5 separate regions of the Homo sapiens genome follow, and all the other regions are linked to region 1. The links are contacts of gene promoters, found by promoter capture Hi-C in blood cells and fetal thymus (Javierre and others, 2016). All regions are on one chromosome and are shown on one strand. The core of a region is centred on a gene start or on the middle of the fragment in contact, and the rest is flanking DNA. Distances in the headings are between cores, read along the strand shown.

Region 1 (4,695 bases), core at 1,922-4,421:
GTTGATTGCTACTGAGTGACAGAATAGAAAAAGCACTTTGAGTGTGTTTCTTCAACACATGTTACCCTTAATCTTCCTGCTGAACCCCCATGCAAAGGACCAGGCTGACCTGAACAATTGGGTATATCAAAGGGCACACATGAAGAAGAGGCAGAAGGAAATCATGAAGGCATGCAATGCGCCGGATCAAGCTACCTTTTGGGAAAAACAGAGCATTTGAGGTGTCAGGGGTAAGGGGACTCTCTGAAGGTACACTCTGAAGATACAGAATAAGTAGAGTGGACTTGGGATCCTAAACCCAGCGGAAAGTGAAGAGAAAGGGTAGAGAAATGATTTATGCATGGGTGGAGCAAGAGAGCAGAACTTGAAGCCAGGCCCTGTATTGGCACTAATTTGCTGTGTGACCTTAGGCAAGAGACCTTATTCCTCTGGGTCTCAGTTTTCTTTTCTCTTTTTTTTTTTTTTTTTTTTGAGACGGAGTTATGCTCTTGTCACTCAGGCTGGAGCGCAATGGCATGACCTCGGCTAACTGCAACCTCTGCCTCCTGGGTTCAGGCAATTCCCCTGCCCTGGCCTCCCAAGTAGCTGGGATTACAGGCATGCGCCATCATGCCTGGCTGACTTTGTAATTTTTAAAGTAGAGATGGGGTTTCATCATGTTGGTCAGGTGGTCTCAAACTCCTGACCTCAAGTGATCTACCCTCCTTGGCCTCCCGAAGTGCTGAGATCACAGGCGTGAGCCACGGTGCCCAGCCTCAGTTTTCTCGTGTATAAAAATTAAAGGGAAAAGGGATAAGTTGATTTCTAAGGGTTTTCCCAACTCTAACATCCTGTGGATCCAATTACAAGTTCTTAGAGCTTCCTATATCATGTGTATAGACACAGGTATCCAGGAAGGGAAGGAAAGAGAGAGGGTGTCTCTGAGTCGCTGACAGGGCACATGGAAGCCTAGAAAACCCAGGAAGACTGAGGCTGATCCTGTCTCAGACACAGAAGCTGTAGCGGGTGTTCTAAAGACCTAAGTAAGCATCCTGCTTGTCCTATCTCCCCTATTTGAATTTAAGCCCCAGGAGGACAAAGCTTACTCTCTGGAATCTCCGCGTTTTAGACTTACAAGTGTCTTTAAAGGTCATCTCATCTCAATCCCTTACCCCAAAATGGGAATTCTCTGTATCCTACCACTGAAAGACGGCCCCCACACCTGTGCGTATTTGCCCTTCCACATAATTTACAGAGTGGAGGGCAGAGTTTGATAATCCCTTCATGCAGCTGACCTCCTGCCTCAGGACCCAGGAAATCTCCCTACGGTTCCTCTGACACTGGCTCCAGTGTGCCAGCCTGGAACCTGAAATGCCATTCTCAGCTTCTCTTCAGGGAGTGAGGTGGGCGGACACATGGCAGGTTTTGGAGTCACACAGACCCGGGTTCAAGTCTCACTTCCACTGCTCGTTAACTGAGGGGATTTGGACAAAGTACCCCAGCTTTCTGTGCAGTTAACCTGCAAAACTCCAAGAATAATCCTTCGCGGGACTGGTGAGGATACATGGGGTGTAGGAGATGAGCATTAAACACGTGCTCCCCTACGCTGCTCCTAACCTCCCTGTCTCCACCTGGGTGTGAGCATCTGTGGGGGCAGGAATTGTTTCTTAGCTACAGGATACTCTTTTCCCAGTGCCAAAAACAGTGCTTTTGTGTCCGGAATTGGTGGGTTCTTGGTCTCACTGACTTCAAAAATGAAGCCACCGACCCTCATGGTGAGTGTTACAGCTCATAAAGGCACAGTGCCCAGAGTTTGTTCCTTCTGATGTTCGGATGTGTTCTGAGTTTCTTCCTTCTGGTGGGTTTATTGTCTTGCTGGCTCAAGAGTGAAGCTGCAGACCTTCCGGGTGAGTGTTAACAGCTGATAAAGGCAGAGCAGACCCAAACACTGCGCAGCAGCAAGATTCATTGCAAAAACCAAAAGAACAAATCTTCCACCACGTGGAAGGGGACCCGAGCCGGTTGTCAGTGCTGGCTGGGGCAGCCTGCTTTTATTCTCTTATCTGGCCCCACCCACATCCTGCAGATTGGTCCATTTTACAGAGAGCCAATTGGTCTGTTTTACAGAGAGCTGATTGGTCCGTTTTGACAGGGTGCTGATTGGTGCATCCACAAACCCTGAGCTAGACACAGGGTGCTGATTGGTGCATTTACAAACCTTGAGCTAGATACAGAGTGCCCATTGGTGTATTCACAATCCCTTAGCTAGACATAAAGGTTCTCCAAGTCCCCACTAGACTCAGGAGCCCAGCTGGCTTCACCCAGTGGATCCCGCCCCGGGGGCAGCAGGTGGAGCTGCCTGCCAGTCCTGCGTGTGTGCCCGCACTTCTCTGCCCTTGGGCGGTCGATGGGACCAGGCACCATGGAGCAGGGGGTGGCACTCGTCGGGGAGGCTTGGGCCATGCAGGAGCCCAGGGTGGGGAGACTCAGGCATGGCGGGCTGCAGGTCCCGAGCCCTGCCCCACAGAGAGGCAGCTAAGGCCCAGCGAGAAATCGAGCTCAGTGCCGGTGGGCCGGCACTGCTGGGGGACCTGGCGCACCCTCCGCAGCTGCTGGCCCAGGTGCTAAGCACTTCACTGCCCAGGGCTGGGGGCCTGCCGGCCGCTCCGAGTGCAGGGCCCGCCAAGCCCACGCCCACCCAGAACTCTAGCTGGCCTGCAAGCCCTGCATGCAGCCCCGGTTCCTGCCCGTGCCTCTCCCTCCACATCTCCCAGCAGGCTGAGGGAGCCGGTTCTGGCTTTGGCCTACCCAGGAAGGGGCTCCCACAGTGCAGTGGCTGGCTGAAGGGCTCCTCCAGCGCGGCCAGAGTGGGCACCGAGGCCGAGGAGGCTCCGAGAGCGAGCGAGGGCTGCGAGGGCTACCAGCATGCTGTCACCTCTCACTTTGCCTATTATAAAAAATGAGAGAGAGAAAATAAAAGCGAATTTATATGTGACCCCAGAATCTAGAACAGAGCTCTTTATCTCTCTCTCAGCAAGGCCTATTAACTAACACAGTTTTGCTGCTGTCTGTTTTCAGAACAAAGACTTGTTCTGTGTACTCAGACAGTCTAAAATGAAGGTTGAAAAAAACAGCTCATGTCCATACACAGAAACAGAAACTGAACCGAACACCGAAACTGAAACTGTTTGTCTCTTCCTGAGAAACGAGCAAACCTGAAAGCTACTCTCTCAGCTTCAGAGGGAAAAAATGGTTGTAGATTTCTGGACTTGGGAGCAGACATTTCAAGAACTAATCCAAGAGGCAAAACCCCGGGCCACATGGACGCTGAAGTTGGATGGCAACCTTCAGCTAGACTGCCTGGCTCAAGGGTGGAAGCAATACCAACAGAGAGCATTTGGCTGGTGAGTGTGGGTTTCCCAGGCAATAGCTCTTCTGAGAAGAGAGGCTCAGGCTCAGCTTAGCATGATTTATTCCTCTGAGAGCTTGTTGAAGGAGTAAATGTCACCAGGGCCTCCATCCTATTGTGGTCATAGTACTCTTTAGGGTCGACATGATAAGACGACTCCAAACCTCCATTTTGTTTAACTGCTGGAAGTTTCTTCTTTTACTAGGTTTCCCTCCGTAAATATTTCTGGAAAACCCTGGAGAAGGCTCCCTATTCCATAAATTTTCCCTTCTAGTTTCTCACCACGTCATTTGTTCCAGACTACCTCTAGAGTCTTTTGCAGTCTCCCCAGCAGTCCTGACCAGCTTCCCCCAGCTGCACCAGCTCTCCAAGCCTTGGCACTGTTCAGTACAAGCCTGGGACGGAGCCTTTTTTTTTTTTTTAAATATCTTAAGAATTGGCTAAGATCAAGCAGTTACTCTGAACATTGCTTTACTGAAGGCCTGGGGATAATAGTATAGAATGATGTTGCAAAAACTAAATCTAAAACCCAGTTCATGGAGTCACCAAGTAATACTCCTCCCTTACTCACCACTTCCCTCTTTAACCCCCAGCAAGCCTCCAGGTTGCAGGAACCAGTTTCCTTGACCATGTTAGGAGGGTGAGAATTGCTGACCTGGATAATCAAATTTATTTTTAAATGACACACAGGACCTTCGGTATAGTTTTCATCTGACCTATTACTCAGCTTGCCTGCCTGCCCCATCCTGCCTCAGGTATGGCCTACTCCATTCCTTATGGACTATTAGCTATGCCATGCATCTTCAGACTTCCACACTCTTGTTCATGGAGTTCTGCTTGTTCAGCAGACCCTCCCCTCACCCCTCCCTGCTCATCCTTCAAGGCCCACTCTAGTGCCTCCTCCTCCTAAAAGCATTCTCTGGTTCTCCTAGGCAGAGTAAGTATTCCTTCGTATACATTCCCATAAGATAATGGGATAAGATAAAATATATATGTATATGTATACATAAATGATATATAATTATATATACATATGTACTATGTATTTCAGAATAATAAATTTATAAATAATATATGTATTATTATATATTGTATCAAATACAGTATATGCTTATTTTTAGCTGCAGAATCTGTTGTTTAAATAAAGCCTCCTAAACGTCTCCAGAACAGTTCTCAAGTCACTTGTCAGAGCCCGTATAGCAGTCATGTTGCTCTGCTTTCTAATCCAGGGAAATGTGTAAATATTTCTGTCCACACCAGCCAGAGCTTTTTGAGGGACTCATGATGTCTTACAACGTTTTGGCACT
Region 2 (4,988 bases), core at 1,050-3,549, 1.8 Mb after region 1:
CTCTCACGTGAGCATCCTTCCCCCTTCTCGTGTCTCTGTATGTAGCCAGTATAGGCCTTGGTTGGTGGATGGGTAGAAAGAAAAATGTGATCTTCCTTTTCCTGCGCTATGATGAGATCTTCTAAAGGTGAATCAAATGGACAATTCCATTTGTCTCTGTGCCTCTCTATTTTTAAGCTGGAAGATGTAGCCTTAGGGTACCTAATTCCATAGATAATAGACAAAAATAGAAAGGAAAAAAGAGAGCTGCCTTAGACGTCCATTAAAGCCTTGAATAAGACATAGTGCCTGCCTCAAGAGGAGGGACACATATGTGTAAACCATAGTTCCATTATCACATAATAATGGGCATGTACAAGTTTTGTGAAAGCCCAGGGGAGGAAGTGACAATACTTCTGGGTGGGTGTGTTAGAGCTGGGTCCTGCAAGTAGGAGTTTACTCAATACAAAAGTGTAATTGGAGTTCAGGAGAGAAGAGACAAGGGAAAAAATGTCATGTAAGCAAAGGCTTGGAGGTGTGAAAGAGCATGGTGTTTTCAGGGAGTATTTGAGGAGACACTGGTTGTTTTTCTGGTAACAACACATTTTGTGTAATGAGATAAAGTCAATGATTGCTTGGGTTTTATGGCAGGGCTAGCTACATTAACAACCAACCAACAAATACCAGCGGATTAAGAGAGCAGACTTTCATTTCTCACCCACTTCCCAGCACAATACAGGTTGGCAAGGGAGTTATGCTCCAGGCAGTCATTCAGAGACCCAGGTTCCTTCCATCTTCTGGTTTTCTCCTCCCCTTAGTTCCTCAGGTCTTTGCCACTCAGCTGGAGGTTGGAGAAAGAGAATGAGGATCAGGCACGCATAGGAAGTTTAAAGGTGATGTCTGGAAGTTGTGTACATCACTCCTGTCCATATGTATGCCTTTGGCTAGAACTTAGCCACCCAGCCACACTCAACTGCAAGGGGTCCAGGGAATTAGAGGCTAAGGGGAGAACACATTGTTAAGCAGATCGGTGTCTATCACAGCTTTGTGTCTGGAGAACAGGAGGATGGAGAGCATGAGGGCTTTATGCATATAAGATAGAACTTGATGAAAGTGTTCTAGCTTCCCTAGGGGACAAGCATGTAATAAAGGGGTCAGGGAGGGCTCTAGGTGAAAGGTGCCCTGTGGCCACACTCCTTGGGGAAAAGAAGATGAATGATTCTATCTGAAAGGTGTTTGTACTCAGACAGAAAAAAAATCTGCTCCAGCCATGAGAAAATGGACAAAAAATCACTGTAGCTCAGCTCTTAAAATGGGAGCAAAAGAAACCCAGCCAAGTAGACAACTTACAGCCCCAACATTTAGAAAGCACCATGTGGTTTACTGTATGCTCACACACAAGGTTCTCAGCTGATCCTCACAAAGGAGGAGGACCTGGTTGAAAATTATCCCTGTTTTAGAAGTGGAAAAATGTATGCTCAGAGATGTTAAATAAGTTGCCAAGGGTTGCACAGTAAGTAAGAGATGCATCTGCCACTGAAACCCACACTGTGCTCTTTGCAGTTTCACAGACCCTCCTCTGTGTAGCGGAGATACTGACCACACTTTGGGGAGCTGACCCGGATCCAGCCCTGGACTGGGGGCCAGGATCCTAGGGAAGCTCTCCTCCATCACCCAGCCCTCTGTTTGCCTGACTTCTGGAATCAGTGAACCAGCTCCTCATCCAGAGAGCACGTACATGTTAGCTGTCAAACAGTGCGTGCCGCATCTGACAACCCTAATATCACTGTTTGTATTATCAGACAATTACCAGCCGAGCTCGTATTCATAATTTGACTAACAACTCGCGACAATGATTATTTTTCCTTTTCTGGCAAAACAAATATAGCAGCGTTTTCTTTTCAGCATCAGCGCTGATGCTCCTTGGCATTCTATCAGCTGAAGGATTTTTTTTTTTTTTTCAAAAAAAAATGTTAGTCGTACTCCCCCACATCTCGCTAACTTTACAGTCCCCCATGGCATCTGTGTGCAGTGAACTGAGCTGTTGAGACTAAATGTAATTTGCAATCAAGCTTCTGTTAACATGGAAATGTACCGGCTGGTCTGCTGCAATATGGGTTCTCATTCTGTCTAGCATATGGTTGCATTAAATCCAGTCTCCAGAATGTCTCTTGTTACCACATTGTCAATCCGTGCAGAGCAGAGAACCCTAAAAAACCACTAAAGGAACATATTTTTGGAATTGGCTCTTCTATTGGATCTTGACAAGAGCTGTCCAAAGACATACTTGGTTACTTGAAATGAACTAGCCCTGTCAGATCTATGCACACACACACAGAGACACACAATAAACTTGAAAACTGGCTTGATGCTCTGTAGTCGTAAGCATAGGAATCATGCTGGAGGACAAAGGAAAGAAGGTGAAGGACTCAGCTTCACCAGATACACTTGAGACTCCTTTATAGGTTTTCTCTTGGTATCTCAATATTTAAGGCCCAGAAAATTAGAGTTGGACAGGACATAAGCAGTCTTTGTGGCTAAAAGCGTAGGCTCCTGAAGTGGATGGACTTAAGCTTGAATCCTGACCCCAGCCCTCCCTAGCTTGGTGACTTTGGGCACATTCCGAAGCTTTGTGTGCCTCAGTTACTTCATCTGTAAAATGGAGTGGACGAAGTGTACCCTCACAACTTACAGCATTATAGGGGATTAAATCCCTACACACGGGACTTATGTCAACAAATCATTGCTATTACTTAGTATTAATTACCTCTTCCTCACCAACCCTATTCCCAAATCTGATGCTTAAATACCTCCTACAATGTTACCACTATTATTCTCCTTCTCTTGTCTTGCACCCCGCTGGTGTCCAGAAGGCCAGTCTCTTCTAAGGCAGCCCGTTCTTTTCCGTACAATTCTGTTAAATGGTTTTTTCTTATATTAAACACAAATCTTACCTGCACCTTGAGCCTTTCCTTTGGGTCATATAGAAAAGCCTAATTCGGTGGCAGTCCTTCAGGTATTTCAAGAGGGTAATCATGCACTCTGTAAGTATTCTGCAGTTTCATTTGGTACCTTTCATTTCTCCTTTGAATTATGCAGTTTTGCATCCCCTTCCTAGGCAGACACCTCCTCTCGAACTTGCCTGGGTATGTCCGCGCCAATCTTGATTTCTGCAGCCCAAGCTGAGTGCCGTGTTTGCAGCTGCTGTATCACCAGCCTGCAAACCAGGTCCTACCTGGTGATGAGTAAGGATTTGCCTGATTACTTTAACACAGCTCAAAAGTGGACCTATTTGCACACAAGTACATCAAGCTTTATAAAATAGACTCTCCTTGAAGAATTAACAAATAGCAGTTTTCAGCAAATCATACTTTAAATTCAATGCAGGAAAAAGAGCTGCATGCCTACAGGTCTCTGTATCATGTTGCAGAAAAAATCCTTTTTTCAAGGAAGTAATTTCCATCCTTATACATCTCTTCTGTAAATCTAAAGTTCTGTAAGTTGTATGGAATGTGCTTTAAGTAAGAAACACACACAGACGGTGCACTGTATCTCACCGAAGAGATAGGATGCAATATCCTCCAACATTTAAAGGGCACTTTGGGAGGTCAGGGGAAAATGGAGGGGAAGACATTCTAGCCATTCATTCATTCATTCATTCATTCATTTGTTTAAAACCTATTTGTGTGCCAGACACTGTGTTAGGCACCAGGCATGTTTCTAACAAGCTGCTCTTGCCACCAAGAAGCCGGAAGACAGGTTAAAGCCAATTAAGATATGCCAAGTGCAGGATGCTGTGGGGCCATCTCACCTAGTCTTGAGTAGCTCAAAATCCAGGGATGGGGATAGATATGAAGGAAAATAATTACATTACTATGGAATAAGTGTTATATTTAAAGACTGTACAAACTGCTCTGAGCACTTTGAGAAGAGAATTTGTTCATCAAATATTTTATTGAGCACCCAGTATTACTGGATCTACAATGAAGAGCAAAACATAGTCCTTGAAATTTACCAACGTTACAGTCTCAAGTATTTGTGTGTGTAGTCTTAAATCAAGTTCATACACTATATTTTTTATTGATTGATTACTTTAAAAAGCTGTGACAAGTGTAATGAAGGAAGAGAACAGGATTCTAGTAGAAAATTAGATGGGGCCCTGACTGGAGAAGTCAATGGGATATGAAGGATTTCTCCTCCAAGTGGTATTTAAGTGGAGACCTGAGAGATAAATTGCAATAAGGATGACAAAGATGGAGACAAGCACCTGTTCAAAGACCTGAAAGAGGGACCAAGTTTAAGGAGTCTGAGGAACTGGGGGAAACAGGGTGACAGAAAGGGGGTGGTCAGGAATGTCTTTGCTGAGCAGGTGGCTCCACTAAGGAAGACTTAGAATGTGCAGAGGAAAGACAGGTCATTTCGGGCAGGACGGGCAGCACGTACAGAGGACGCGTCCAGGTCTGGGAGAAGCTCCTTCCATCTTCGTGGTGATGCGAGGTGGTGGTGAGATGTTCAGGGAATGTGCAGAAATGGAGAGGAAAGCTGGGCCAGGTCATAAATGGCTTTATAAACTACACCAAGGGATTGATTATACCTGCAGACCCCACAAAAGCACTGAAGATATGCTAGATTGTCTTCATTTTCTTTTTTTAAAACCCATATCCCATGCTTGTGAGTAAGGAGAGGGTAGAGGCATGCCTTCTGTATCTCTAGATCCTACCCCCTGCCCCCATTTTCAACGATGGGTGGTTCAGTTAAATTCTATCTCCTCCTTGTCACTTTGTTCCCAGCTCTGATTTGTGATCTGTGGAAGCTTTCATTTTGCCATTCTCTGATTCTTGTTGTAGTGACCTTGTGCTACAGTCTCTTGATATGAGTGAGGGGTCAGCAGCTTCTGAAGACCAAAGAGACTCTAACTCAACCCTGCATGGTGCTTGCAACCTGTTCCTGCATTCTGACAGGAAGGTTTCACCCAAAGGTGTGAAGGATGAATCACCCCATGATGCAGA
Region 3 (5,252 bases), core at 1,663-4,162, 1.8 Mb after region 1:
TTGTTATCTTCTTCATCTAATAAATGAGCAAACTGATGTACGGAATGACAAAATGGTGTATAATGGATCCTCATAAGAAAGGCTGAGATTTACACCTTGATGTCCCAGACACAAGTCAATGTATTTATACTTTCATATTATATTTGGCACTAAATGACTAAAGTTAACTTATTATAGTAACTATAATAGTAAGATAGGGGAGAGTACAATTCTGTATCTGGGTATATTTTCCTTCTGTGTTCTATAAGGGCTTGACCTACATTTTTACCAAAGATAAGAACAGCACAGTGAGAAGACTGATAGAACTCCAGAGGCTACCAATTCATTCTGTAAAGAACATGCTTTATTTTTTGTGTCTGACTTTTGAAAAGGTATACAGCAAAACATCACCTTCATCTTCTGTCTTCATCACATTCGTTACTACCCATAGGGAACCAATGTTAATAGTTTCTATATATCCTTTAAGAGTTACTTTAGGCATATAGAAGCAAACATAAATATTTGTTTTTATTCCCTCTCCTCCTTTTTATGCAGAAAATGGCATATTTCACCTTCTCTTCTGTTCATTTTTTTCTTTCATTTGATAATACCTTTAAAAATCTTCCCATATTAACACAATTTTCTTCACACTTTTTATAACTTCATCATATTGTATTGTATGAATGTATCCTATAATATATATCCCTAGTCCTTTATTGAGAGATGTTTGCGGTTTTTTTCCAGAAATTTTTGCTATCCAAAAATAAGGCTGCAAAGAACACTTTATAGATATGTCATTTTGTATATATGCAAAAATTTCTTTAGTATAATTTCACAGAAGTGAAAATATGGATCAAAGGATAGATCATTTTTCATTTTGATAGGCTTTGCCAATTATTTTCCATAAGCGAGGCAAATAAGGTTTTAAAAATTCTACATGATTATACTCATCTTCACATATCCTTGGCAAAGTGCCTGGCATAAAAGCATTCAATAAAATGCTTATTTTAGGATTATTTCATGACTCTTTACTTAACAATTTTTTCTTCTGAAAAATATTAGTCTCACTACTCAGTTATATTTGTTGAGACCAAAATTATGTGAATACAGGAAGAGAGACCCAAAAAAATACCCATGTTGTGTCATTAAAGAAAGTATTATTTTTGAGAGGACAAGTGGGACTGGAAGAGTCAGACTGCATCACAAAGAGTGGAGGTTGAGTGTAGGGAAAATTGTCATAGAATCCTAGGCAACTCCCCTCCAGAGTCATCTATTCCTGCCAGTGGGGTCACTGGAGGTGACTGACGTTGGCACAACCTTCTCTGTCGAAGTACATTTGAGCAGTGGTTCTCTTAGTACAGTCTCCACACCACCAGCAGCACCCAAGAACTTGTTAGAAATGCAAATTCTCAGGTCCCACCCTGGTCCAGCTGAATAAAAAACTCTGGGTAGAGTCCCAGAAATCTATGTTTTAACACATACTTTAGGTGATTCTGACGGGCATTGAAATTTGAGAGTCATTGAGCTAAAGAGTCTATGAACTTACTAGAACAGATGACAATCAATCTTTAAGCTAAGGTTGGGCCTATAAGTAGTAACACCTGTTTGGGGAAGGAAGCAGAAAATGAGGTGAGGAGACTGAAAGAGTGTATCTCCATGAGTCAGCTAAAATTTATTGTCAGAGCATTGGAAGAAGGCTATGTTGTTTTTTATTGACATGTGCTCTAGGAAGAGAAAAAAGGTTTAATTTAAAAATGTACAGATTCCTAAAGGCTTTGAACTTTATAATGCTTGTTTGGGAAAACTGTTCCTCTGAAAGTGGCTGTCTTCATTTATATAATTAAATCTGAGTAAGATTATAGAAGATGGGGCCTAGATCACTTTTTCTCTACCCAAGGAGAAAAGCTTACCAGAGTTCAAGAGTAAGTTTTCTGGAAGGCAGTTAGGCATACAGGCAACTGCATAAACTATATCCTTTGTGACCAGCTTTCCGGAGGAGCTGCTGGAATATACTAACTAATCATAAGCGCGAAGTGGGCTAAGTCTGCTCTAAACTAGGTATTTTCTCCTTTCCACACAGCCGGGGGCCATTGAGACTGCCATGGAAGACTTGAAAGGTCACGTAGCTGAGACTTCTGGAGAGACCATTCAAGGCTTCTGGCTCTTGACAAAGTGAGTAGTCACAGCTAAGTGAAGGGCCGTGGAAATACAGCGTTTTCCTTGACATCACTGTAGCAGAATAGGAGATGGACCTGTGGTAGAATTTCTCTGGTTGCTACATAAGATAAATGATTGAATTACCAGGTTAGTCACATTTTCCAGCATTCCGTGGCTGATGATATGACCAGATATGACTCCTATACCTGTTTTCTGGGCTGGTCCCCTCACTCAACCATCACTACGTCTACCTTAGGTCAGGCCTGTATCTCCACTCTCAAAGACTGTTATATTGGCTTCCTAATTCTCTCATTCTAATCTCTTATTTAAAAGCACTCCCCCTATAAACACATTGAACTACTAATCATCTCATTCTAGGTGTCATGGAAAGAAAGTCTGGGAAAGAATATAGATAAAATCAACATATATACTTTGAATTTGATCTTATATACAATCATGAACAGAAAAACCAGGGAAATCATGAAGATAGCTAAGTCAGGTACATTTCCAGAGTTAGGATAAAAACCAAGTCGAACATTCAAGCCCTTATTGCTTCAATAACTGCCTGCATTCCCCCCAAAGATTATCTTATCCATAAGAGCTTTGCTTGCAAATACCACCACAAAGATGGTTACCTTTCTAGCCTTCTCAGAAATTCTGTTGTTTGTGTGACCATCTCTTTACCCGCCAAGTAAATATTAGTAATACCATGGTCTTTATAATAAGTAAAATATCCCTATAATAAGAGAAAAGGCAATTTTTTTTTACTACGGAAGCCTTAATATTAAATAGATAATTTGATTAGACTACCCAGTTCAGATACTTGATTAATTCAGTAAGTTCTGTTTTCTGGCCTGGTAACTTGATCACAAAAGGGTTCAGCAGAGAAGCTCTGTGATTCCTATACCTTGAGTAAATAATCATTAATCTTTAACTGCTGGGCAGGATGTCTTGTTAGACTAAGTTTCAGGAGGGCAACACTTGAATGTTTTACCATCCAGGCCAGCAGAACAAATTTTTCAATCAATGGAAAGTAGAGCCATTATCACCTGTGAGTTCATCTGATTGCTCACCATTTTATACTATTGTTTCAAATAAATAAAAATGAACTCTTAGACACCAACTTATCTGTTAATTTTGGGTTTTTGTTTCTTCATGCATAAAATGGAGATAATAGTATGTATCTGAAGAATTCTTGAGGCCCAAATGAGATAACGTTGGTAAATTAGCAAAATGCCTAGCACATGGACCTTCAATAGCTGTTAGTGCCCCTCTTCGTTCACAAGTGATAACTATTAGTAAGAGGCTCTTTCTTTGTAGCATCTTCCTTCATTTCTATACTATCCATCTCTGTCATTTCTGGGTTACCTCTAATGAAAAGAAAACTCTGCAATTCAGGCTTTTTCCTAATTCACTTTTACCAACACGCATTTCATTTCCCACCCCCACTTCCCATCCATTGTGATATTTGACTTCTGCAAATGAATATTCTGCCTTGATTAGAATAGGTGTCAACATAGATTTTGGAGATCCCATCAGTAGCAAACACTTAACTAATCTGTTTCTACACTGCATCTCCCTTACAAGAAAGAATACACAAATGCGGTATTTCTAAATCTAGTCAAGGCTGTTGTTGAGTTCTCAGATAATAGAACTGGTAATTTCTTTAATCTTGCACATTTTAATTGGTTTTATTTATATAGAAATATGCTTTTTTTGTTTGCTTGATTATTTTTATTCAGTGATTATAAAGATGTGTAGACATAAATTGTCCAAAACTAAGTCAGACTGCATGAACTATATTGAAGCTTAGCACTACAATTCTGCCTGCTTGATTTAACATCAACTACAATGATTGGTAACACCAGTAGTTTTCAGAAAAGTATGAACAGCTGTCCCCCAAAGAGCCAAACTTTGAACCCAGCTTGAACCTAAATAGGAAGCTCAAAAGTTGGTAAAGCCTATCTAGAAACTCATTTTACATTTCTCTTTTGTTTTGTGGTACCTATTTAAATTAACTACAACAATGAGGGATGAGTCCTGCATACACATAATTTCTTACTATCATATTTGCTTGTTTGCTTGCAGACTTTCTTCCTTTGCACTTTGGAACCCATCCATCCCCTTTAAATCGTAGTTCCTTGGTGTTCTTTTTGGTCTTCTCTCTGCCAAAAGCCTTTACCTCCTCTTCCCCATTAAAACCTACTTTCAGGAAAAGTTCTGATTTCAGTCATTTCTGCCATGGTGAGAATTTGACAGTTTATTTTCTTTGCTTGTTAAAAACCTCATCGTGGGTTCCGAGATGCATTATGCAATGGAAAGCGCTGCTAGTTGTAAAGACCATGGTTCAGGCATCTGGTCCAAATAAATGAGGTTCCTAGTCTAGCCACTGTTACTTTTCAAGCAGAAAAATAAGAAAAAATAATTGTCAAAAAGAGGAGCATTCATGGAGGATTTAAATGGCCTTTCATATTTAAGCCTTTTTGTTTGTTTGTTTGAAAATTCTAGCACACCAAGGCAGGGAAAGGCAAAAACAACAACAATGAGAACACAAAAACAAAAATCCCAACTCCCCCAACAGCAACCACAAAACAAAAAAACTAAAGAAAATAAACAAACATGCAGGCCCAGAAAGGTAAGAGCTTGCAATTACTCCTGGCTTCTTGCTTCCCATTTATTTAGTTCTTATGAATTATAGGAGCTGTAATATGGACCAACTACCCTAGCCTCACCAACCACACAAGATTCTCTCTTTTTTTTTTGAGACGGAGTCTCGCTCTGTCACCCAGGCTGGAGTGCAGTGGCGCAATCTCGGCTCACTGCAAGCTCTGCCTCCCGGGGTTCACACCATTCTCCTGCCTCAGCCTCCTGAGTAGCTGGGACTACAGGCACCCGCCACCACACCCAGCTAATTTTTTGTTTTTTTTTTAGTAGAGATAGGATTTCACCCTGTTGGCCAGGGTGGCCTCTATCTCCTGACCTCGTGATCCGCCTGCCTCGGCCTCCCAAAGTGCTAGGATTACAGGCGTGAGCCATCGCGCCCGGCCGAGATTCTCTTTTATGTATAACAAAAATGACTGAGCTTCATGCATATTAACTTTTAGCTCATTCCATGG
Region 4 (4,620 bases), core at 492-2,991, 1.6 Mb after region 1:
GTTTTTTTTTTTTTTTTTTTTGCTACAAGTTGGAGCTCAGTCCCTGGGTTGCAATGGATAAATCTTTTGCTAGGCAACCCAGTTGCTAAGCTTTGCTCACATCATTCTTGAGCTCAAAAACCTTTATGGATTTCAGCTATTCATTCCTAGTATAGTCATCCTTTGGTATCCTTGAGGGATTGGTTCCAGAATCTTCTGAGGATACCAAAATCCAGGGATGCTCAAGTATCTCATATAAAATGGTGTAGTATTTGCATATAACCTACGCACATCCTCCTATATGCTTTAAATCATTGCTAGATTACTCATAATAATACAGTGTAAATGCTATGTCAATCGTTGTTATACTGTACTATTTAGGGAAGAATGACAAGAAAATCTCTACATGTTCAGTACAAATGCAACCTTCCATTTATTTTTCCAAATATTTTTCATCGACACTTGGTTGAATTCATGGATGTGGAACCTATGGATACAAAGGGCCAATTGTACAAGATTCATTTTGTGTCATTATTTGGGCTCTGCCCATGATATTGCTACTACTTTTTAAAAAAATTTATGAATTCCCTTCTGGAAGACGAGGTAGAAAGTAGACAGGCGATTTTGCTAAGCAGTTTTGACATCTCTCACACACACCTATTTTGGCTAACCTTTTCCTGATTTCTCAGTCCTCAGTAGCTCCTCTGTGCACGTGCCCAGATGTCACATTTCTTAACTTATTTTCTATTTCTTGAGGATAATTTAGTCACTTTTTTCTCTACAGTAAGCAGAGAAGGTAGAGCTGGAAAATGGGGTCTTCATCAGAGTTTAACTAGACTATGAATAGAATTCTGTAAGGCACGGACCAATGAGCTGTCTTTTAGGTCAGTCCAGAAGGACTCAGATTCACACCAAACTTAAGTGGCTGGTGAATGAGGCTCAGATTGTCCTCCCAGTTTCCCACTGCCATCCCCAATCCTGCTCCAAGAGCGCCCTCTGCTGGAATGGAGCAGGAGCCAACATCCTCAGCCATCTTGGAAGTGGGGCCAACTGGAACTCTGAAAGGATGAAAAGTACCTCTGTTTAAATACAAGCTCCAAATAAGACAGATCAAGTCTACAATGTCTTCTTGACTTTTATTTCTCATTCCTTCTATTTCCATTTCTTTGACAACTTTTCTTAAGAGGATCACGATGTGGTGAAAAAATAGAATTTAAAGAGGGGAAATGTAATCCAGTGAAATGGGCATAAAACTAAGAATTCTGCCTTCTTTGAGAGGTTTAATTGCTGGGTTACAAAGAGTAATTTCTTGGAATAACTCAGTTTCTAGTCTCAGATTGTAATTACTCCTTCAGTTAGAAACCTTCTTCCATTCATTGCCTGCTAAATTAAGTCAACATTCTTTACTTAGCTTTCAAGGTATATTTGTATATGAATTTACAAATTCATAATATGTTATTTAGTTTGTACTTCATTTATCAAAGCTAATAGTATCTTTACTTTAAAAAAATTTTACTCTGATCTACTTTTTAGAAATTGAAAAGATATTGAAAACTTTAAAAGTACATTTGAATACCAAAGTCATATGTTTCACATTAAAAATCATGCTCAGCACTTAATCTGCTTATAATTTTGAACAAGTGGAAGACCCTGATTAAATAATTAGCTTTTGAACAGAAACAATAATTGATAGGTTGAATTCTATCTTTAGCACTGATGTTAGTCCTAACTTGTTGTTTAGGATTGAGACAAGGTAAAGCGACATAAAAGATTTGGGGGAGTTGATATAACCTTTAAAGTGTCATTTAGTCAAAGGAAGAAACAGTAGCTAGGAATATACCTATTGAATAAACATAGCAATATGGTAGATTCTAGTCCTAGACCCCTGTTTTACAGCTAGAATTATGCCAAAAAGTTGAAAAGTAAAGCTGGATGAAACCTTAGAGAAGACTCCGCCATCTTATAACTCAGATGGTGAAATGAGACCCAGAAAGAATAGTCTTCCCAAAGGCTCACGGTCAGTTATTATAGGAGCCTCATTTGGAATTTGAGTCATCCAATTCTCAATCCACTGTTCTTACCACTACCCAACACTACCTTTGTTTAACTGTCTTTCTTGCATAAAAAGGGACTTATAGGTGAGAGATTCTATAGTGCCATTGGGAGCTGCTGCCTGAATCTCCGTGTAATTTCAAAGAGTTTCCTAACTCAGACCCTGTCCCATTTCACTGTATCCTTAAGAGGCTGAGAAACGGGGCATTCAGATTCTTTCCCCATGCTGACTCTTCATTCTGTTTACACATGGGCCGGCCAGATGCTAGAGAAAAAAAAACAAACATTTGCAGCTGTTATCAGGGGTAGGATAGAGCACATGAGGTTCCCAAGTTTTGATCCAACACATCAGAACACACTTGATTTTTACTCTGGCTTGGAGTTTACTGCCTTCAGCTTCTTCTACAAAGCCTGAATGTTGCCATTTCATGTCAAAACCTGCACTGAGAGATGCCGATGGCTTCTTGAGCTAACTTCAGCCCATCACCGCAGTGGTCTAGATGACCAAGGAAGTGACTGCTTCATTACAGCTTGAGGGGACCCTCTTTCTTCATCCCCCACTTTCACTTTTTTTTTTTTTTTAAATGAAAAGGCCGATGGTTCTCCCAAGTAGCCAGAGGCCAGCAGGAGCACTAAGTAAGAGACAGCAAGAAGTGTTCTTAGTGAGAACAATGTGGACTTTGGAGTTATGTAAAACCCAATTTTAATCCTGGCCCAGCCATTGACTGGCAGTTTGATTTTGAGTTATTTAAGTTGGAACCTTATTTTTCTTGCTTATTTATTGAACTATTAATTGAAAAAGTGATTCTAGTCCTAGACCCCTATTTGACAGCTAGAGAAATGAGACATGAACTGATACATGCTCAGATAAATACATTTCTTACTCAGAGGATAATAGTCAATGATTAATAGTTTCCACTGAGACATCACAAATAAGAAATAGATTGAAATTACATTTGAAGGATCTAGGTTAGATATCAAAAACTTCCTTGGAAGGGAGCATCATGAAACCTCTATTTCTTAGAAATCTTTAAGAATATAATAGTCACACATGTTGAATGAGTTTAAATGAAGCATTACTTACCAGGATAGACGACCTCTCTAGTTTTTCCCCAGTTAAAAAATCCAAGACTTGGGTTCCTTCTTTCAAGAGGAGTAATGTAAAAAGTCTGACCCCTAGTGGTCATCGTCTCTGCATTGGACCTAAGGGAAAAAGGCCAAAAAGAATGATAACAACCAGACTTTGTTTTGGAATTAAAAACGAACCTTAGAAATGTGAGAGTCAAATTGTCTAATTCTAAAACAAGGGAACTTAGACCAAATGACTACAAATATTTCCCCAACACCAGCGACTCTGGAGTAAAGCTTGTTATGGAACTCAGGACCTTTTGCTGGTGCTCTGGGTTCAAGATCCAATCGCTTCATCTTCCAGAGTCTCCCACCTGGAATCAGCCTCTTGGTGACATAGAAACAGCAGGTATATGCTGATTCGACTTTCAGGGCACAGGATTCAGTCCGCATTCTTTCCTTTTCTTTCGTGATGAGGAGCACTTAATTGTTCAGTAGATGTAACTCTCTCTCAGGTAACCAACCTAAGTTCTCCATTCCCTTTGTACATTCTGACAGATGCTCATAGCATGCTAAGTGCTCATGGGTGGTAGGCTGCTTTCTAGTTTCCTGATGTCTGTCTTCTCCCATTAATCAAATCTGATGCATACAAAGAACCAGCTGATTTTTTCCTCAAACCCGTTTATGCTACTTTTATTAGTAAATGCAATTATATAATTTAAATATTATGCAAATAGATGAAATATAAGTATAAAAATAAAGAGACTGTGTCCATAAAAATTAAATTGATTGCTTTGGAAAGGCTCAAGAGGGAAGAATTGCTGAAAAAATGATCTAAAATTAGTTTGTGGATGAGATAACTGTAGAAGAATAACACAAAGATTAAAATCCAGAATAATTGTGCAAGTTTCTAAGGTTTTTATCTGCTACAAAGAACAAAAGAAAAGAAAACAAAAACAAAAATACCTGAAACTTCAACTAATAGAGGATGCATGATGGGAGTGATTTATTCAAGAAAAATGAGATGGAGCTTCACAAATGGAAAATGTGCACTTAAAGAGAGGCCTTGGCTCTACCTACTGGCAAGTGAAAGTCTTAAGTTAAAATATATGTATTTATATGATTCCTAGCTTTAGCCAAAATTTCTGATTAGCTGACACTGAACTGTAATAGGTGAAAGTATTTCTTTAGTATTAAGATTCAGATATCAGAGTGAGATCCAGGAAAACTGGTTTACTTAATATCTCCTGAGTGCTAATCTCCTGAGGATTTGGTCTTTCAACAATTCCTGTAAGATCCGTTTTTATTTCCATAAGTCTCCTTTTTGCAGGCACTTTCCGCAGATCCTTTTCCCCTTGACAGTAAGTAAGCTTTGTCTCTGAACTAGGCCCCAAGAATTCAGCTTTCAAACCCTCTGTTAAATTAATGTTTGTTCACTTTAGCAATTCAGTAATAGTCACTCAGGATCTAGAACAAGATCCAATGTTTGATGTCTTAAGATTTGAACAGTGTAGGGCCATA
Region 5 (4,831 bases), core at 370-2,869, 1.7 Mb after region 1:
TGGAGCTGAGTCAAGTTAGAGAGCTGAGCGAAATACAGGGGTAGAGGAGCAGCAGAAAGGCCTTGAGAGCTCGCTTGGTCCCCAGGCAACCCATTCCTGCATGGCACCACAGCGATCCACTGGGAGGGTAGCCAGAGGAGCAGGGAGTAAAACTCCACAGGGAGAAGGAATTCTCTAGCTGAACTTTGTAATAATTTGAACAGGGTGAAAAGCCTCCCGGCCACAACTAGGGGAAGGGTGGGAATAGGTTGGGCAGACTTCACAGGCACAGGCACGGAAGAACTAAAGCCCTTTTCTCTTGCAGCTGGGAGGCAGATAGCCTCAGGCAAGTTTTCAAGCCCCTCTCGCCCTCCACCTGGAAACAGGCTTGGGGCTGTGGGTAGTGGGGGCATAGTGGGAGTGAGACTGGCTCTTCAGTTTGCAATGGGAGCTGGGTGAGGCCTCTGACTGCTTGCTTTCCCCCACTTTCCTGACGACCTTCATGACTCAGCAGAGGCAGCCATAGTCCTCCTAGGTACACAACTCCAGTGACCTGGGAATCTCACCCCCATACCCCACAGCAGCCACAGCAAGACTGGTCCGAGGAGAGTCTGACCTCAGACACACCTAGCCCTGCCCCCACCTGACGGTCCTTCCCTATCCACACAGGTAGCTGAAGACAAAGGGCATATAATCTTGGGAGTTCTAGGGCCCTGCCCACCACCAGTTCCTCTCCACACTACTACAGCTGATGCTTTCTGGAAAGCGCCACCTCCTGGCCCAAGGCTAACCAGCACAAAAATAGAGCATTAAACCACCAAAGCTAAGGACCTTTAGGGAGTCCACTGCACCTTCTGCCACCTCCACCAGAAAAGGTGCTGGTATCCATGACTGAGAGACCCATAAACGGTTCACATCACAGGACACTGTGCAGACAACCCCCAGTACCAGCCAGGATGGAAATTTAAAAAATCTTTGAACTGAATGACAATAATGACACAACCTATCAAAACCTCTGGGATACAGCAAATTTGGTGCTAAAAGGAAAGTTCGTAGCCCTAAACACCTACATCAAAAAGCCTAAAAGAGCACAAACAGACAATCTAAGGTCACGCCTCAAGGAACTAGATCAACAAGAACTGACTAAGCCCAAACTCAGCAGAAGAAAGGAAATAACCAAGGTCAGAGAAGAACTAAATGAAACTGAAACAAACAAACAAAAAACACAAAAGATAAATGAAACAAAAAGCTGGTTCTTTGAAAAGAGAAATAAAATTGATAGACCATTGGCAAGATTAACCGAGAAAAGAAGAGAGAAAATCCAAATAACCTCACTAAGAAACAAAACAGGAGATATTATAGCTGACACCACTGAAATACAAAAGATCATTCAAGGCTACTATGAACAACTTTATGCACATAAACTAGAAAACCTAGAAGAGATGGATAAATTTCTGGGAAAATACAACCTTCCTAGCTTAAATCAGGAAGAATTAGATAACCTGAACAGACCGATAACAAGCAGCAGGTTTGAAATGGTAATTTAAAAATTACCAACAAAAAAAATTCAGGACCAGACAGATTCAGAGCAGAATTCTATCAGACATTCACAGAATTGGTACCAATCCTTTTGACACTATTCCACAAGATAGAGAAAGAAGGAACCCTCCCTAATGCATTCTATGAAGCCAGCCTCACCCTAATACCAAAACCAGGAAAGGACATAACCAAGAAAGAAAACTACAGACCAATATCCTTAATGAACATAGATGCTAAAACCCTTAACAAAATACTAGCTAACCGAATCCAACAGCATATCAAAAAGGTAATCCACCATTATCAAGTAGGTTACATAACAGGGATGCAGGGATGGTTTAACGTACACAAGTCAATAAATGTGAAACACCACATAAGCAGAATTGAAAACAAAAATCACATGATCCTCTCAATAGATGCAGAAAAAAGCATTCAACAAAATCCAGCATTCCTTTATGATTGAAACTCTCAGCAAAATCGGCATGCAAGGGACATACCTTAATGTAATAAAAGCCATCTATGACAAACCCACAGCCAACATAATATTGAATGGGGAAAAGTTGAAAGCATTCCCTCTGAGAACTGGAACAAGAAAAGGATGCCCACTCTCACCACTCCTTTTCAACATAGTACTGGAAGTCCTAGCCAGAGCAATCAGACAAGAGAAAGAAATAAAGGGCATCCAAATCGGTAAAGAGGAAGTCAAAATGTCACTGTTTGCTGACGATATTTATCATTTACCTTGAAAACCCTAAGGACTTCTCTAGAGAGCTCCCAGAACTGATAAAATAATTCAGCAAAGTTTCCAGATACAAGATTAATGTACACAAATCAGTAGCTCTTCTATACACCAACAGCGACCAAGCAGAGAATCAAATCAAGAACTCAGCCCCTTTTACAAGCTGCAAAACAAATAAACAAACAAAAAACCACCTTAGGAATATACATAACAAAGGAGTTGAAAGACTTCTGCAAGGAAAACTACGAAACACTGCTGAAAGAAATCATAGATGACACAAACAAATGGAAACACATTCCATTCTCATGGATGGGTAGAATCAATATTGTGAAAATGACCATACTGCCAAAAGCAATCTACAAATTCAAGCAATCCTCATCAGAATACCAGGATCTTTCTTCACAGAATTAGAAAAAAAAATTCTAAAATTTATATGGAACCAAAAAAGAGCTCACATAGCCAAAGCAAGACTAAGCAAAAAGAGCAAATCTGGAGACACCACACTACCTGATTTCAAACTATACTATAAGACCATAGTCACCAAAACAGCATGGTACTAGTATAAAAATAGGCACATAGACCAATGGAACAGAATAGAGAACCCAGAAATAAACCCAATTACTTCCAGCCAACTGATCTTCAACAAAGCAAACAAAAACATAAAGTGGGGAAAGGACACCCTTTTCAACAAATGGTGCTGGAGTGATTGGCTAGCCACATGTAGGAGAATGAAACTGGATCCTCATCTCTCACCTTGTACAAAAATCAACTCCAGATATATTAAGGACTTAAACCTAATACCTGAAACTATAAAAATTCTAGAAGATAACATTGGAAAAACTCTTCTAGACATTGCTTTAGGCAAGGATTTCATGACCAAGAACCCAAAAGCAAATGCAATAAAAACAAAAATAAATAGCTGGGACCTAATTAAACTAAAGAGCTTTTGCACGGCAAAAGGAACAGTCAGCAGAGTAAACAGACAACCCACAGAGTGGGAGAAAATCTTTACAACCTATACATCTGCCAAAGGACTACTATCCAGAACTGCAATGAACTCAAATCAGTGAGATAAAAACAAACAATGCCATCAATAAGTGGGTTAAGGACATGAACAGACAGTTCTCAAAAGAAGATATACAAATAGCCAACAAACATATGAAAAAATGCTCAACATCACTGATGATCAGGGAAATGCAAATCAAAACTACAATGAGATACCACCTTACTCCTGCGAGAATGGCCATAATCAAGAAATCAAAAAACAGTAAACACTGGCATGGATGTGGTTAACAGGGAACACTTCTACACTGCTGGTGGGAATGTAAAGTAGCACAGCCACTATGGAAAACAGTGTGGAGATTCCTTAAATAACTGAAAGTAGAACTACCATTTGATCCAGCAATCCCACTACTGGGTATCTACCAGAGGAAAAGAAGTCATTATTCGAAAAAGATACTTTCACATGCATGTTTGTAGCAGCACAATTCACAATTGCAAAATTGTGGAACCAACCCAAATGCCCATCAATCAATGAGTGGATAAAGAAACTATTATATATATATATATGCTATGCAGCCATAAAAAGGAATGAATTAACAGCATTTGCAGTGACCTGGATGAGATTCGGGACTATTATTCTAAGCGAAGTAACTCAGGAATGGAAACCAAACATTGTATGTTATCACTGATATGTGGTAGCTAAGCTATGAGGACGCAAAGCCATAAGAATGATACAATGGACTTTGGGGACTTGGGGGGAAGAGTGAAAGAGGGGTGAGTGATAAAAGACTACAAATATGGTGCAGTGTATACTGCTTGGGTGATGGGTGCACCAGAATCTCACAAATCACCATTAAAGAACTTACTCATGTAACCAAATACCACCTGTATCCCAATAACTTACAGAAAAAAAAGAAAATCAGATGTTTAGTGTAGCCAGCTTCATCAATTATCTTAGCTAAATCTTCTGAATAACTTGTGGCTCCTATATCAGCACTTGCTGCTTCACCTTGCACTTTTAGGAAGACAGCTTTTTTCTTTAAACCTCATGAACCAACTTATACTAGCTTCCAACTTTTCTTCTGCAGCTTCCTCACCTGTCTTAGCCTTCATAGAATTGAAGATAAAAGCAGCCCAATTTTCTCATAGAACTGATGTTTATGGTTTCTTTTGAGGAAACATAGAAATTGACCCTCCCAGTCTTGAAACTTGAGGAAATTATTTTTGTCTTATCCGAGTTTCTTTCTCAGGAAACCAAACATTTGGGCTCCCGGATAGTATCAAGGAATTGAAACTTACCAGATCACTGCATACGGACAATAAGATGCCAGACCCCGCACCCACCATGATTGCCTAAGTGACCTTCCACTTCCTGTTGACCAACTCCTGCTCCTTGCTCCTCCCTAATTTCTGTTTTCCCATATGTGGTTACATTTCTTCTCTGCTATATAAACCCCTAATTTTAGTCTGCCAGGAGGACGGATTTGAGACTGATCTCCCATCTTGGCTGCAGTACCCAGTTAAAGCCAATACTCATTGTCTCAGTGATTGGCTTTCTGTGTGGTGAGCAACAGG

The links. The method cuts DNA at HindIII sites, captures the fragments that hold promoters and counts their contacts. A CHiCAGO score of 5 or more calls a contact.
Region 2: a contact is called between a fragment that was not itself captured here and the fragment with the promoter of RTP4 in region 1, in 1 of 17 cell types (activated CD4 T cells). The highest score is 5.6, in activated CD4 T cells.
Region 3: a fragment that was not itself captured here is called in contact with the fragment with the promoter of RTP4 in region 1 in 1 of 17 cell types (neutrophils); the score reaches 5.2 in neutrophils.
Region 4: a fragment that was not itself captured here is called in contact with the fragment with the promoter of RTP4 in region 1 in 5 of 17 cell types (activated CD4 T cells, total CD4 T cells, naive CD4 T cells and 2 more); the score reaches 8.9 in activated CD4 T cells.
Region 5: a contact is called between a fragment that was not itself captured here and the fragment with the promoter of RTP4 in region 1, in 1 of 17 cell types (neutrophils). The highest score is 7.8, in neutrophils.

Annotation. Positions count from the first base shown.
Region 1 is chr3:187,365,214-187,369,908 of GRCh38, forward strand. RTP4 (receptor transporter protein 4) reads left to right here and starts at 3,172. Exons shown (of 2, transcript NM_022147.3): 1 at 3,172-3,383. The coding sequence starts at 3,229. RefSeq lists an enhancer at 3,033-3,382. The HindIII fragment of the contact is 4,178 bases long and covers 1,079-4,695 here.
Region 2 is chr3:189,137,743-189,142,730 of GRCh38, forward strand. It overlaps a transcript of TPRG1 not described here. Among named protein-coding and RNA genes, the nearest start is that of TPRG1, 32 kb to the right of the region's middle. RefSeq lists an enhancer at 1-67. The HindIII fragment of the contact is 501 bases long and covers 2,050-2,550 here.
Region 3 is chr3:189,213,233-189,218,484 of GRCh38, forward strand. TPRG1 (tumor protein p63 regulated 1) reads left to right here. Exons shown (of 6, transcript NM_198485.4): 3 at 2,060-2,151. Among named protein-coding and RNA genes, the nearest start is that of TPRG1-AS2, 25 kb to the right of the region's middle. The HindIII fragment of the contact is 2,060 bases long and covers 1,883-3,942 here.
Region 4 is chr3:188,953,825-188,958,444 of GRCh38, forward strand. No RefSeq gene overlaps it. Among named protein-coding and RNA genes, the nearest start is that of TPRG1-AS1, 8.5 kb to the left of the region's middle. RefSeq lists silencers at 716-1,010, 3,376-3,670 and an enhancer at 3,326-3,860. The HindIII fragment of the contact is 3,306 bases long and covers 89-3,394 here.
Region 5 is chr3:189,048,920-189,053,750 of GRCh38, forward strand. It overlaps a transcript of TPRG1 not described here. Among named protein-coding and RNA genes, the nearest start is that of TPRG1-AS1, 100 kb to the left of the region's middle. The HindIII fragment of the contact is 7,093 bases long and covers 1-4,831 here.